Regions from separate parts of the Homo sapiens genome. Here region 1 is linked to region 2. Evidence: promoter capture Hi-C in 16 types of primary human blood cells and fetal thymus (Javierre and others, 2016). All regions are on one chromosome and are shown on one strand. Each heading gives the region's core, a stretch centred on a gene start or on the middle of the fragment in contact. The rest is flanking DNA. Distances are from core to core; before and after follow the strand shown.

Region 1 (6,393 bases), core at 2,734-5,233, 380 kb after region 2:
TACTTTATAATAAAACCAGTTATTTTAAAGAAAGTTACAAAGTAAAAGCAGCTTTAGTAGCCTGCAAATAAAGCCAAGGCAGGAAATGGGTCCTCTCTACAGTGGGGCTAGTCCTGGGCAGGACCTTGAGCTCCGGTTTGGCCAGCCTTCAGGACGCCCAGCCCGTTCTAGCAGGGAAGGAGTGATAAGGAATTAAGAGGCCAGACCCTGGGTTGGCCCCTTGGCCCCAGAGCCAAGGTCTGCTGAAAAAGCCAGGGACCCTGAAGAAAGGCAGAATTAGGAGCCAGACCCTGCCTCTCCCCACCGCTACTTTGACTCCAACCTTCATCAAAAAATGATCCCCAAGGCCACTGTGCTTGGGTCTCTGGTTTTTTGGACCCCGAGTCTGGGTAGAAGTTCTCCAACCCACTTATGGCTGAGGAAGGGAGACTTACGTTTCCCTTGCAGGGCACTTGCCTCCTGCCCATCCCACCCTCTCACCTTGATTGAATTTGGAAGGATGCCCAGCTCCCCACTCCACCCCCAAAACCAGCAGAACCCTCAAACAGAGTCACAGGACCGCTCCCCTGAGGTTTAGCATCAGTCTTTAATGCTGTCGCACTTCATTGACTAGTCACACACTTTGGTCTCATGTTGGCAGTGGCAACTTACAATGAGTCTAAAGGTCTGAGCACTGGACTGGCCTCCAGGGAACAGACATTTGTTCCAACTCCCCTTCCCTCCCCAAGATTTCTTCAGAATTCCATTATGGCCCTATACAGAGAGCACTGGCTGCCGGGGACAGGTTTTGAGTGTACACCAACTATACATGGAATTATAAAAACATATTTACAGACGTTCCACAGTGCTCCTGTAATCAGAAGCAAAGACCCTTTTATCAAAAGGGATTGTATCTAGGGCTGTGCAAAATTCAAAAGGATCAGATCCCTTTGAAAGAGTCCATAGTCCATGAAACAAAAAATTACCTGGGCCACTGGTAAGCCCCACGTGTGCCAAGATTGCCTTACAGAAATGTAAAGAGTGTGACCCACAAAGTGAGGACATTCAGCTTCACTGGAGCCAGAGGTCAGGAAGGCCCCTTGCTGAGGCCAGGCTCCCAGACCATCAAGGGAGAGGTGGCTGCACTTGCTGGAGTCACTCACTGGAGGCTGGCTCCCTTGGTCCTGCTGGAACGAGAGGTATTGCTTGTGGACGCCAACCAGGCAGTTCTGCAGGAATAGTTTAGGTTCTCAATTTGAGATGGCCAAAGAGAAGACAGAATTCTCCAGGAGAAGAGCAAGACATGGGAGACAAATACAGAATAAAGCACAAACTGATCACACAACAGAAAAGGAGGAGTGTACAGGGTCTGGGAATCAAGACTGCAGGTTGACATTATCTACCAGCCAGAAGCAAAAAGACACAGAGGGATCAAGTCCATCTGCTGGTCTGCCTCTCACCCCTGGCCAGGGACTGGAGGTGGATGTGGGCCCATCCCGGGAGGGCTGCCAGACCCAGTGGGGCAGACTGGAATGCCTTTTCCTGCTGTTCCCACCACCTGATGCCCTATAGCTCGAAAAACCACTGAAGTCTAGTGTGCGACTTTGAAAGATTGTAATATATGCTCTGGAAAACATTCAGCAGTACGAAAGCCCTCCCTGGGCCCTCCCACCCTCTCATGGTCCACAACTGGTAGAAAGGTCCAGAAATCCTTGAGCTCTGGAAAGGTCCCTGGTCAGTCCTTGGGGAGCTCAGATAGCTATATTGGAAGAACCTGCTCAAGTACGGTTCTTGATGTCTGGGGAATCCTTTCGGGGAAGATCACTTCAAACTCAATAATGAGGTCCCCACGTTTCTCGGGTGTTTTGGGGAGGGGGAGGCCTTCTCCAGGAACTTTTCGCCGCATGCCAGGCCTGATAACATCTTTGAATACGACGGGTATCGTCCTGCCGTCCAGAGTGGGGACGTTCACTGTGCAGCCACACAGAGCCTTGAAAAGCAAAAGGACAGCATTAGATGGAAGCTGGCTCAAGAGGCTCAGCTCTTGCCCAGAGGCCGTCTGCCATAGATAAGACCCATCAGGCCTCTGCAGCTAAGACCTGGCCCCCAAATCTACACGTCCCCACCACGAAAGCTCCACAACAGCGCCCTGGTCAGTCCTGTTCACTGTTGTGCCCCAAGCCTGGCACGCACCACACACCCCAACACATTGGTTCAGCAAATACTAAACTGCTTCAAAAAGCAGCCATCGCCCTCTACAGACACCGCCCCACCTGGCACCTTACCTCCCGGAGGCTGATCCTGGCAGGATAAATGACATCAGAGCCATCTCTCTTAAAGATATTGTGGGGCTTGTCCTTTAAAACAAAGACGATATCAGCTGGAATGTTGTTGGAGGTCTGGTCTCCTTCCTTGGGGAAAGTGATTTTGGTTCCTTCTTTCCACCCCTTCTTCACTTCGATGGTCAATATTTTGTCTTCGTTTCGAATGCTCTTTCCGTCGGGGTTTAGCCGCTTGTGGGAGATTTTCATCTTCTTGGTACAGCCGCTGTAGATCTCTTCAAGGGAGACTCGAAGGTCGTGGGTGACTGGGGGATCTTGCTTCTTTCGGGCGGGCTCTTGGGCAGAGCGGGAGCGGCCAAAGTTCACGTTGGTGAAGCCACCCATGCCCATAGGGAAGCCAGAGAATGGGTCATCAATGTCCATGCCTTCCTCCCCGTTCCGCTGCCCAAAAAAGGTGTCAAAGGGATTTCTGCCACCGAAGAACTCAGCAAACATGGCATGAGGGTCTCCATGGAATGTGTAGCTGAAAGAGGTACCATTGGCACCACCGCCGCTACCGCCACTGGGGCCACTCCCCTTTAGGCCTGAAAAGCAGATTTAGAAGCAGTCAGATGGCTGAACAGCAGACTCTCTCTCGAGCTTCCCTTACAGGGGGAAACAGCTTGGAAGCCATGGGGGAGGAACTTTTTTGTCTGTCAGGGGAGAGCAAGGAAGAACCCCAAGTTTCTACCTCTCACTGCCAACAGCAGAGACGCCCCCCTACCAACAGTATTTCCGCGTAGCCTGACAGTGGAAAAGGACTCATGCGGTTAGGTGTTCACCTCCAGGTGCCACCTAGGCCCTGCCACTCCTGGACTGACCCATCCTCCTGGCAACATCACCAAGAGATGGCTAAAGACACATGGTCCAGGGTCGGCTTTCGGTAAGTGTTTACTCTCAACGTTTTAGGGCTAATGGTGCGTAGGAAGAGAAGAAAAAAAAAAACAAAAATAAATAGGGAGTTTTTAAATCCTCACACATTAGCATTCACTGCCACCATCCTTGCACAAAAAGTCAGCTCCAGATCAAGCCCAGAAGCCAGCCTGAATCATCAACGGGCACAGGAACAAAAAGCCCTGCTCTCCTTACCCTCCGAGGCGGCCCCGCTCTCCGGACCTGGGCGGCCGCTGCCTCCTGCGTGCCCTGCCGGGGCCAGGTCATCACTTCCCGGGAATTATCCCAACCCAGCCCCCAAGCCCACGAACGGGGTCGGCTCCTGCATTCACAACCCCTCGCCCCGCAGCTGAGCCGGAGGCGCCGCCCCGCGGACCCCGGCGGCCGAGCCCAGGTGAGCCCGGGTCCGCAGCGGGCTCCGCCGCGCCGTCCCCGTCGTCACCCCCGGCTCCCCCACCCCCATGCACCGCACCCCGGGGCTGCTCGGGGCCGCGGGAGGAGGCGCCCGGGGAGGGGCAGCCCCAGACATGCTAGAAGCTTCTGGCCGAGCGGCTGGGCCAAGGCTCCTCCTCCCACCGCGCGGCCGCCAATCCGAGGGCGGAGGCCCGCGAGGCCGGAGGGCGGGGCAGCTCGGCCCCACGGCCCGGGGCGTCCTTCCCGGGGGGCCGCCGAGAGGGGCCAGCGTGCCTCAGTTTCCCTGTCTGTCAAAAGGCGGGGCCGCGCCCCTGGCCGCGAGCACACACCTTCCTCCCCGTAGCGGTCGAAGATCTCGCGCTTGCGCGGGTCGCTGAGCACGTCGTAGGCCTCAGCGATCTCCTTGAACTTCTCCTCGGCGCCGGGCTCCTTGTTCTTGTCCGGGTGGTAGCGCAGCGCCTGGCGGCGGTAGGCCCGCTTGATCTCCTCGTCCGACGCGCCGCGGGCCAGGCCCAACGTCTGGTAGTAGTCTTTACCCATGACCCCCTCCTGCGGCCCGCCGACCCGCTGTCGCCGTCCCCCGGCTCCGCCGCCGACCAGTCCCGGACTCTATATACCCGTCCGGCGGAAGCTTCCAGAGCCCGCCAGCCCCCTCCAGAACCTTCCGCCCCGCCCGCCCCCGCGGCGCCGGCCAATCGCCGCCGCCCTTTCAGCGACACGCGACATCCGGGGCGGGGCCTCGCCGTCAACGGCCGCCCGCGCGGGGCCACGCCCCCTCCCGCTCCGCCCTCGGCAACACCTCCCCGCGGCGCGCGCGCACAGGTCGGAGGAGGCCCCGCCCACCTTTCGGGACGAGCCAATCGCGACCTTCTTTCCCTCTCTACGCGGCCCCAGCTACCCTGCGTCCCGCCCTCCGCCTGGGTCAGTAGGTCGGGACCCACAGCGAACTTGCTGTTCCAGGAAGGGGTGGGGCCTGGGACTACCCAGTCCTTTCCCCGGGAGGCGATGAACCTGCTCGCCCTTGTCTCGTGGGGCCTGCGGTGGGCTCCCGCCCGGTGACGCCGGACGAACTACCTAACCTGTGTCTGCCTAACCCAGGGGCCCCCTTCTATCTACAACATGGCAATAAGAGAACCTATCAGGCCGGGCGCGGAGCCTCATGCCTGTAATCCCATCACTTCCTGAGGCCAAGACAGGAGGATCTCTTGAGCCTAGGAGTTGGAGACCAGCCTAGGCAACATAAGGAGACTCCGTTTCTATTTAAGATTAACAAACAGGCCGGGCGCGGTGGCTCACGCCTGTAATCCCAGCATTTTGGGAGGCCGAGGCGGGCGGATCACTTGAGGTCAGGAGTTCGAGACCAGCCTGGCCAACATGGTGAAACCCCATCTCTGCTAAAAATATAAAAATTACCCGGGCGTTGGTGGCACGAACCTGTAATCCCAGCTACTCAGGAGATTGAGGCCTGAGAATAGCTTGAATCGGGGAGGCGGAGGTTGCAGTGAGCCGAGATCCGGCCGTTGCACTCCAGCCTCGGCAACAGAGCGAGACTCCGTCTCATAAATAAATAAAATAAGTAAAATAAAGTAAAATGAACAAAAAACCCACCAGCGCTATTCTCCCAACCGTGGGGAGAAGGATTTTGGGACGGAAGACTGCCTCTGTTCTCACCTCCTAAAGCAAGGTGAGGATCTGGACGGAAGCGCATCTCCCAAGGTCCTCCCAGTCCCGCCTTCTTCCCTTTACTGCCCTCTCAAGATCACTTGCCGCTAAATTTGAAATTTATCTTGTCTCTTGGCTTTCAATGTGTCTTCCCTCCCAGTCTGACATCGCCACCTGGGCAGGGGCCAGGTCCTGTCTGCACTGGGTCCCCAGTGCCTGGAACGCAGTGAGAACCTCATAAATATTCCCCGTTCTTACACACGTGCTTCTTTTTCTTCCCCAACTACCTTTATAATTTGGGGGGACATAGGTGTGTCACACACCTTTCAAGGCCTCTGTTTCCTCAATTGTAGGCAACACGATCGCGTTTGGCTCTGAAAGTCTGGGGTGCCTCTGTCAAGGACAGAGCTGATGGGAAAAGGAGGCTCAGAAAGGGGTTCCACCTGGGAAGGGCCCAGGGAAGTGGGGGAGGTTCCTGGAAGAACTGCCTGGGAGGTCAGAGCCATGTAACACTGGCTCTGGAACCAGACAGCTGGGCTTCATTCCCAGCTCCAGCATTTCCCGGCTGGGTAACCTTGGGTTAGTTACTAGGCCTTTGCTGGCCTTAGCTTCCTCATCTGCACAATGAGGAATGAGGATAGCAGTTGTGCCCACATCATGAGGGCTTTGAAGTTTATATGAGTCAACATTTGCAAAGTGCTCAGAGCAGGCATGGCACAAAGGAAGCATTGTCAAAGGGGTGACTAACCATTTTCTTAGTGGTGGGCTCTTCAGCCATCACCTCATTCCTGGCAGCTAAAAGATTCCAGTGACAGCTGCCCCTGGGCAGACAGGGACTCCTGAAGAAGAAGACCATCCTCCTGCCTCCTGAGGCGGGAGGATCTCTTGAGCCCAGGAATTTGAGGCTGCAGGCAGCTATGATTGTGCCACTGCACTCCAGCCTGGGTGACAGTGAGACCCTCAGCCTCCCCATAAAAAAGTTACATAAATAACTATCAGGAGCATCATGGCGGATAGTTACATAAATAACTATCAGGAGCATCCAGCAGGCAGATCTGGTTCTCTTGGCCCACTCAATGATCTCTGAGGTAACTGCATCAGCAAGAACTCTGGACTAGAACTG
Region 2 (6,577 bases), core at 483-2,982:
GTTCCCCTCAAAGACGGTAGCATCCTTTCCCAGGGAGAGCTCAAGCATAGGGGGGTTGGGCCCCAACGAAGGAGAGAAACCAGGTTCCAGGGTATGTGCATTGGGGCAGAAAAGCGGCAGCAACTGGTGGGCGTGGGGTTATTGAAATATTGGCAGGTTGGGGAGGGGACTGGTGGGACACAAATGGGAAGATGGGGTTGAGAGAGGTCCTGAAAAGGGGTTGAGGGGTTTTCACAGGAAAAAAAGGTTACTGGAGGGGAGGGTCTTCACGGCAAGGAGAGAGGAGCTTGGGTGAGAGGTCTCCATAGGGAAAATAGGAGATGGCTGGGATTTCCCCCGGGGAAAATGGGAAGGGGCTGGATATTGGGGGTCTCCAGAGGGAAAATGGGAGGTGTGAGTATCTCACTACAGGAAAGAGGGAATAAGTGGGCAAAAATGGGTGGGTGGTTGAAGCGGGGGTCTTGCCACAGGGAAACCACGGTGGCTGAAGATCTCCGTGGGTTAAGAAATGGAGGCCGAGAAGGTCTCCCCATGAAAACGGGTACCTAGGAAGAGCTCCAGAGAAAAAAGATGGATGAGGTTCCCCACGCGGGAAATGGGGCTTGGAGGGGGTTAATCTCTATGGGGAGGTCGGGGCGGGCAGTGGGGGAAGAGGCCACTGGGAGGTCCGAGTTAGCTGGCGGGGGGTCTCCACCCGGGAGGTCAAGGCGGGCAGTGGGGGAGGAGGTCACGGGGAGGTCCGTGTTGGCTGGTGGCGGGGGGTCTCCACCGGGAGATCCGGTTGACTGGCGGGCTGGGGGAGATCGGGGTTGGCGGAAGGGGGACGAGGGGTTTCATGGGGGAGATCAAGTTGGCCATGGGAGCGGTTCTCTGAGGGGAGGCCGGGGTCGGCCCGGGGGTGGGGGTCCCCGCACAGGCCCAGCCTCACCGTCCGCCAGGGCTTCACTGCACTCGAAGCTGATCTCGAACCGGAAGGGGCTGTGGAAAGGGCTCGGGTTCTCCAGGACCGCCACGTTCAGCACCGACACCTTGGCCATCGCCTCGCCTCGCCGCGCCGCAGCAGGGGCAGGGGCTGTGGCTGTGGCGGAGGCCGCGCCTGGGTCCGGTGGGGTCAGTGGGGTAGGGCTGACCAGGTCCACTCCCGCCTCTTCTCTCCGAGAACTGAAGTGCGCACCTAGTCCGCGCGCCGCCTTCAAATAGCCGGCCTCCGCCCTCTGGCCAATCACCGCCAACGCTCCCTGGCGGCGCGCGCACCCCCTCAGCCAGTCCTGGAGCGCCGATCGGCGCGCGCCCAGACTCCTCGGACCAATCAGCGGAGCTCCCTCTCCGCAGCGTGTGAGGAGGGCGAAACTATCTCCAAGCTTCTTAGCGTGTCCGCTGGAAACCAATCCCCAGCGTCTCCGACTTGGATGTCAACGGCGGGAATGGACGGAGTCACAGCGCCGGCCTCCTTCTGGCCAATCCTGAGGGTTCCCGCACCGGCGTGGCCCGCCCCTCGCCTCGCTTTTCCGGGAGATGCATCCCGCAGCGCGCAGCGCCGCCACCCGCCGAGCGGTGGCGCGCGGCGCTCGCTAAAGAAGGCGGGAAGGGCGGTGCTCGCACCCGAAGTGATTGGCAGGAGGGAGTGGGGCGGAGATAAAGAGGGTTTTCTGAGAGTTTATTGGCTGGATTGGTAATGGTGGCGGGAGCAGAAGGAGGCTCAGCTGGGGATTCGCTGGAGAGAAGCGGAAGTCGAGCGCCACCGCGGTGTTGGCGAGTGTGAAGAGAGAGGAGGAGCGTTTGCGGCCTCAGCGTCTGTCAACAGGTGAGCGTTTCCTGGAGCTTTTCTGAGTGGCTCCTGACCCTTGAGGTCCAGCGGCGCGGGAGTCCGTTGTGAACGTTGCGAACGTTCGGAGTGGCGGTCACGAGGCGCGCTCAGACCTCGGGAATCCGGCCGGGTTCGGATCCCGCTTTCGCCCCCGAGGGGTTCGGATCCCGCTCTCGCCCCCGAGGGGTTCGGATCCCGCTCTCGCCCCCGAGGGGTTCGGATCCCGCTCTCGCCCCCGAGGGGTTTGGATCCCTCTCTCGCCCCCTTGAGGGCTCTTGGGAGGTTTCAAGCGGACGGTACTGAAAATGGGAGTTCCAGTTCGGGGGCAGACCAGTGTTCAGAGTCCGGGCTCTGCTACTCAGCGCCCGAGGCAGCGCCTCCCCATTCAACGGGGGCCGTGGCAATTCCCTGACATGATTCATGACCACATAATACATCCGGAAACTTCTCTCCACCGCCTCCCGTCTGGGCCGTCGCCCCCGGCCTGGGAGACTCCAGGTCTCAGAGTCTCTGCCCCCACGGGCGATCAGTGCTGCCCAGTGGAAAAATAATGCCAGCCGCGCACCAAAATTAGGTGTAAAATTAACATTTTTTGGAAGCCACTTTTTTTTTTTTGAGATGGAATCTCGCGCTGTCACTCAGGCTGGAGTGCAATGGCGCGATCTCGGCTCACTGCAACCTCTACCTCCCGGGTTCAAGCGATTCTCCTGCCTCAGCCTCCTGAGTAGCTGGGATTACAGGTGCCCACCACCACAACCAGCTAATTTTTTTTCTGTATTTTCAGTAGAGACGGGGTTTCACCATGTTGGCCAGGCTGGTCTCGAACTCCTGACCTCAAGTGATCCGCCCGCCTCGGCCTTCCAGAGTGCTGGGATTACAGGCGTGAGCCACTGTGCCCGGCCATATCTTTTTTTATTATTATTTGTAATTTTAGAGGCTGGTCATGGAGGATTTCTTGAGGCCAGGAGTTCAAGATCAGCCTGGGCAACATAACAAGACCTCATATCTACAAAAAATAAAAGAATAAGCCAGGTGTGGTAGTGCATACCTGTAGTGTCTGCTACTCCTGAAGCTGAGGCAGGAGGATCTCTTGAGCCCAGAATGCTCCAGCCACTGCACTCCAGCCTGAGTGTCAGAGTGAGACCCTGTCTCTAAAAATTAAAATTAAATTTTAAAAAAGAAAGTTCAGTTTAGCTGTCTTGATAGCCGCAGTTGAGTGCTCCTGAGCCCGTGTGACAAGTGGCTCCTGTATTACTGGACAGCGAAGGTCAGAAACACATTTGACCAGGTCACTTCTCCGGATGAGAGCATTGTCTTTGAAACTCTATGCTTTGTCTCCTGTTAACCACCCAGCTCCAACTTCAAACCAGGCTAAGTAACCCTCTTTTTGTTAAAATTCTGACAAGCCACTCCCAGTGCAAAGCCTCTGCCCAGAACCTCTTCTCCTAGGCTCTTGGCATGGCTTATGCCTTCTTGTCATTCAAGTCTCTGTTCAAATGTCCTCTCCCCAGAGAGGCCTTTCTAAGGGTGCTCTGGACAGTGTTCAAACTCACAGGCCGTACGCCTGAACAGCACTGAGCCAAGGCACTAGTATTTCTTACCCAGTCACCTCTGTGGGCTCACTAGGACTCACTCACTGTGCTAGTATGTTTTCCTTTTCCTTTTCTTTTTAAACAATCCAGTTCCTGTGGGATTTTTTTTTTTTAATAGAGGTCTGTTGCCCAGGCTGGAGTGCAAGTGGCATAATCGTGGCTCACTATAACCTGGAACTCTTGGGCTCAAGTGATCCTCCCACCTCAGCCTCCCGAGTGGCTGGGATCACCAGTGCGTGCCACCATGCCTAATTTGTTTTATTTTATTTTATTTTTTTTTTGAGAGGGAGTCTTGCTCTGTCACTCAGGCTGGAATGCAGTGGCGCAATCTCAGCTCACTGCAACCTCCTGCTTCCAGCTTCAAGCGATTCTCCCACCTCAGCCTCCCGAGTAGCTGGGACTACAGGCACACGCTACCTTACCCAGCTAATTTTTGTATTTTTAGTAAAGATGGGGTTTCACTATGTTGGCCAGGCTGGTCTCAAACTCCTGACCTCAGGTGATCCACTCACCTCGGCCGCCCAAAGTGCTGAGATTACAGGCATGAGCCACCGTGCCCTGCCTCTTATACTTTTTAAATTTTTTGTAGAGACAGGGTCTCGCTGTTGCCCAGGCTGGTCTTGAAACTCCTGGCCTCAAGCAGTCCACCTATCTTGTCCTTAAGTGCTGGGATTACAGCGCCTAGCCCATTTTTGGTATCTACATCTCACATTAAGTTAAGAAAAATTCTTTTTAGCTGTTAAAAAATCGAAAGCTTTGTTTTTATTCTTTTGAAATTATTTGGCTTCAAGGAAACTCACATTTATGATTCGCTTGATTTCTTGGCAATCATTGCATACTTAGGGATATTTGTGATTTGAGAAAATCTAATTTCCAAATGTAATTCGATTGCTTATGAATACTAAATTTAATGATTAATGCAGTTGTCATGATGTCACATTTCTAGATGCTTAATTAAACATTTATTCATTCCAACTTTGTAGTTTTCTCTTTGCATTGTGGAACTTTTTTCCCTTTATCCCTGTCCCTGACCTTTTCGTAGCCCCTGAGAAGCTCATGATCCACCAGCATTATTTCCGTGGCGCTAATGAAGAATGTGGCCCTGTCTATGATGCATTCTCCTTACAGCTGGCTGAATGATCTTCACTTGTAAACCAGATCATGTCATTACTCTGCTTAAAACCTTCAGAGGCTTATCCTACTTAGAATGAAACCTAAGATCTTTCCTATGGCTTAGGCGGCCCTGCGTGGTGGCCTCAGCTGACCTCTCAGGCCTCATCTACCATTCTTCCTCTTGTCACCGCTCTCAAGCCCAGCTGGCTTTATTTCCCTTCTTTCAACACACCCAGCTTATTTCTGCCGCAGGGCTTTGCACTTGCCGTTCCCTCTGCCTGGAATGTGCTTCCTCCAGATAATTGCATGGCTGTCTCTTTCTCTTCGCTTGTGGTTCAGCTCAAATGTCCTCTGAAAGAAGACTTCCCAGAGTACCCTATTTAAAGTAGCACTTTCTTGGCCGGGCGCGGTGGCTCATGCCTGTAATCCCAGCACTTTGGGAGGCCAAGGCAGGCGGATCACGAGGTCAGGAGATCGAGACCATCCTGGCTAACATGGTGAAACCGCATCTCTACTAAAAATACAAAAAATTAGCCGGGCGTGGTGGCGGGCGCCTGTAGTCCCAGCTACTTGGGAGGCTGAGGCAGGTGAATCGCTTGAATCTGAGAGGTGAGGGTTGCAGTGAGCTGAGATCGTGCCTCTGCAATCCAGCCTGGGTGACAGAGCAAGACTCCGTGTCAAAAAAAATAAATAAATAAATAAAGTAGCTTTTTCTTAATCACATCACTCAGTTTTATGATCTTAGTAACGCATATCAGAATTTGTACTTATTTTCGGGTGGGCATGGTGGCTCACACCTATAATCCCAGCACTTTAGGAGGCCAAGGCGGGCCGGTCACTTGAGGTCAGGAGTTCGAGACCAGCCTGGCCAACATGGCAAGACCCCGTTTCTACTAAAAAAAAAAAATACAAAATAAATAAATAAATAAATAAATAAATTAGCTGGGCGTGGTGGCACGTGCCTGTAGTCCCAGCTGCTCAGGAGGCAGAAGAATTGCTTGAACCGGGGAGGCAGAGGCTGCAATGAGCCGAGATCACGCCACTGCACTCAAGCCTGGGCAACTGAGAGAGATTCCATCTTAAAAAGAAAAAAAGAATTTCTACTTATTTTGGTTTTAAATTGTGCTTATTATCTCATCATCCCTCAGTAGATTGAAAGCTGGTTGTGAGAAGAGATCTCGCCTAGCTCACACCTCTCAATGTTGTACTTCCAGAGCTTAGCAGAGGACGTGGCTCATAGAAAGTCCTCAATCAATTTTTCAAAAAGAATAAATCTGGCTGGGCGCAGTGAGTCACACACTCTGGGAGGCCGAGGTGGGCGGATTACCAGGTCAGGAGATCGAGACCATCATGGCAAACATGATTAAAACCTGTCTCTACTAAAATACAAAAAATTAGCCAGCCGTGGTGGTGCGTACCTGTAGTCCTAGCTACTTGGGAGGCTGAGGCAGGGGAATTGCTTGAACCTGGGAGGTGGAGGTTGCAGTGAGCCTAGATTGCACCACTGCACTCCAGTCTGGTGACAGAGGAAGACTCCGTCTCAAAAAAAAAAAGAATAAATCTATGTAAAGGGTGGGTTTAGCATAGTACCTGGAATGTGAAAAGTACTCAATAAACATGAACCAGCCAGGTGCAGTGGCTCACGCCTGTAATCCCAGCACTTTGGGAGGCTGAGGCGGGTAGATTGCTTGACCTCAGGAGTTCGAGACCAGCCTGGGCAAAACCCTGTCTCTACAAAACATAAAAAAATTAGCCGGGTGTGGTGGCATGTGCCTGTGGTCCCAGCTACTCAGGAGGCTGAGGTGAGAGGATTGCTTGAGCCCTGGGGGCAGAGGTTGCAGTGAACCAAGATCTCACCACTGCACTCCAGCTTAGCTAGGCAACAGAGTGAGACCCTGTCTAAAAACAAACAAAAGACTGAACTGTTAGTAGCATATAGTAATAAGCAGATACGTCTTCATTCTTGTTTAATACTTCAGGTGCACACATGCTCGAGAAAGTATAAGAAGTGCTATAGCAAAATACTGTTACCCAGCTTAACAGCTAAAACATTAGAGATGCAACT

Evidence for each region. Contacts are between HindIII fragments. The CHiCAGO score rates a contact against its expected background, and 5 or more counts as called.
Region 1: a fragment that was not itself captured here is called in contact with the fragment with the promoter of ADGRL1-AS1 in region 2 in 2 of 17 cell types (naive CD4 T cells and fetal thymus); the score reaches 8.1 in naive CD4 T cells.

Annotation. Positions count from the first base shown.
Region 1 is chr19:14,514,202-14,520,594 of GRCh38, forward strand. DNAJB1 (DnaJ heat shock protein family (Hsp40) member B1) reads right to left here and starts at 4,196. Exons shown (of 3, transcript NM_006145.3): 1 at 3,938-4,196; 2 at 2,265-2,845; 3 at 568-1,969. The coding sequence starts at 4,148. The coding sequence ends at 1,739. RefSeq lists silencers at 3,478-4,047, 4,258-4,577 and an enhancer at 5,490-6,219. The HindIII fragment of the contact is 508 bases long and covers 3,730-4,237 here.
Region 2 is chr19:14,135,420-14,141,996 of GRCh38, forward strand. It overlaps ADGRL1-AS1 (ADGRL1 antisense RNA 1), which reads left to right and starts at 1,733. Exons shown (of 3, transcript NR_045214.1): 1 at 1,733-1,804. It overlaps ASF1B (anti-silencing function 1B histone chaperone), which reads right to left and starts at 1,170. Exons shown (of 4, transcript NM_018154.3): 1 at 929-1,170. The coding sequence starts at 1,037. RefSeq lists a silencer at 936-985 and enhancers at 1,316-1,455, 1,533-2,159, 1,656-1,815. The HindIII fragment of the contact is 2,792 bases long and covers 1,360-4,151 here.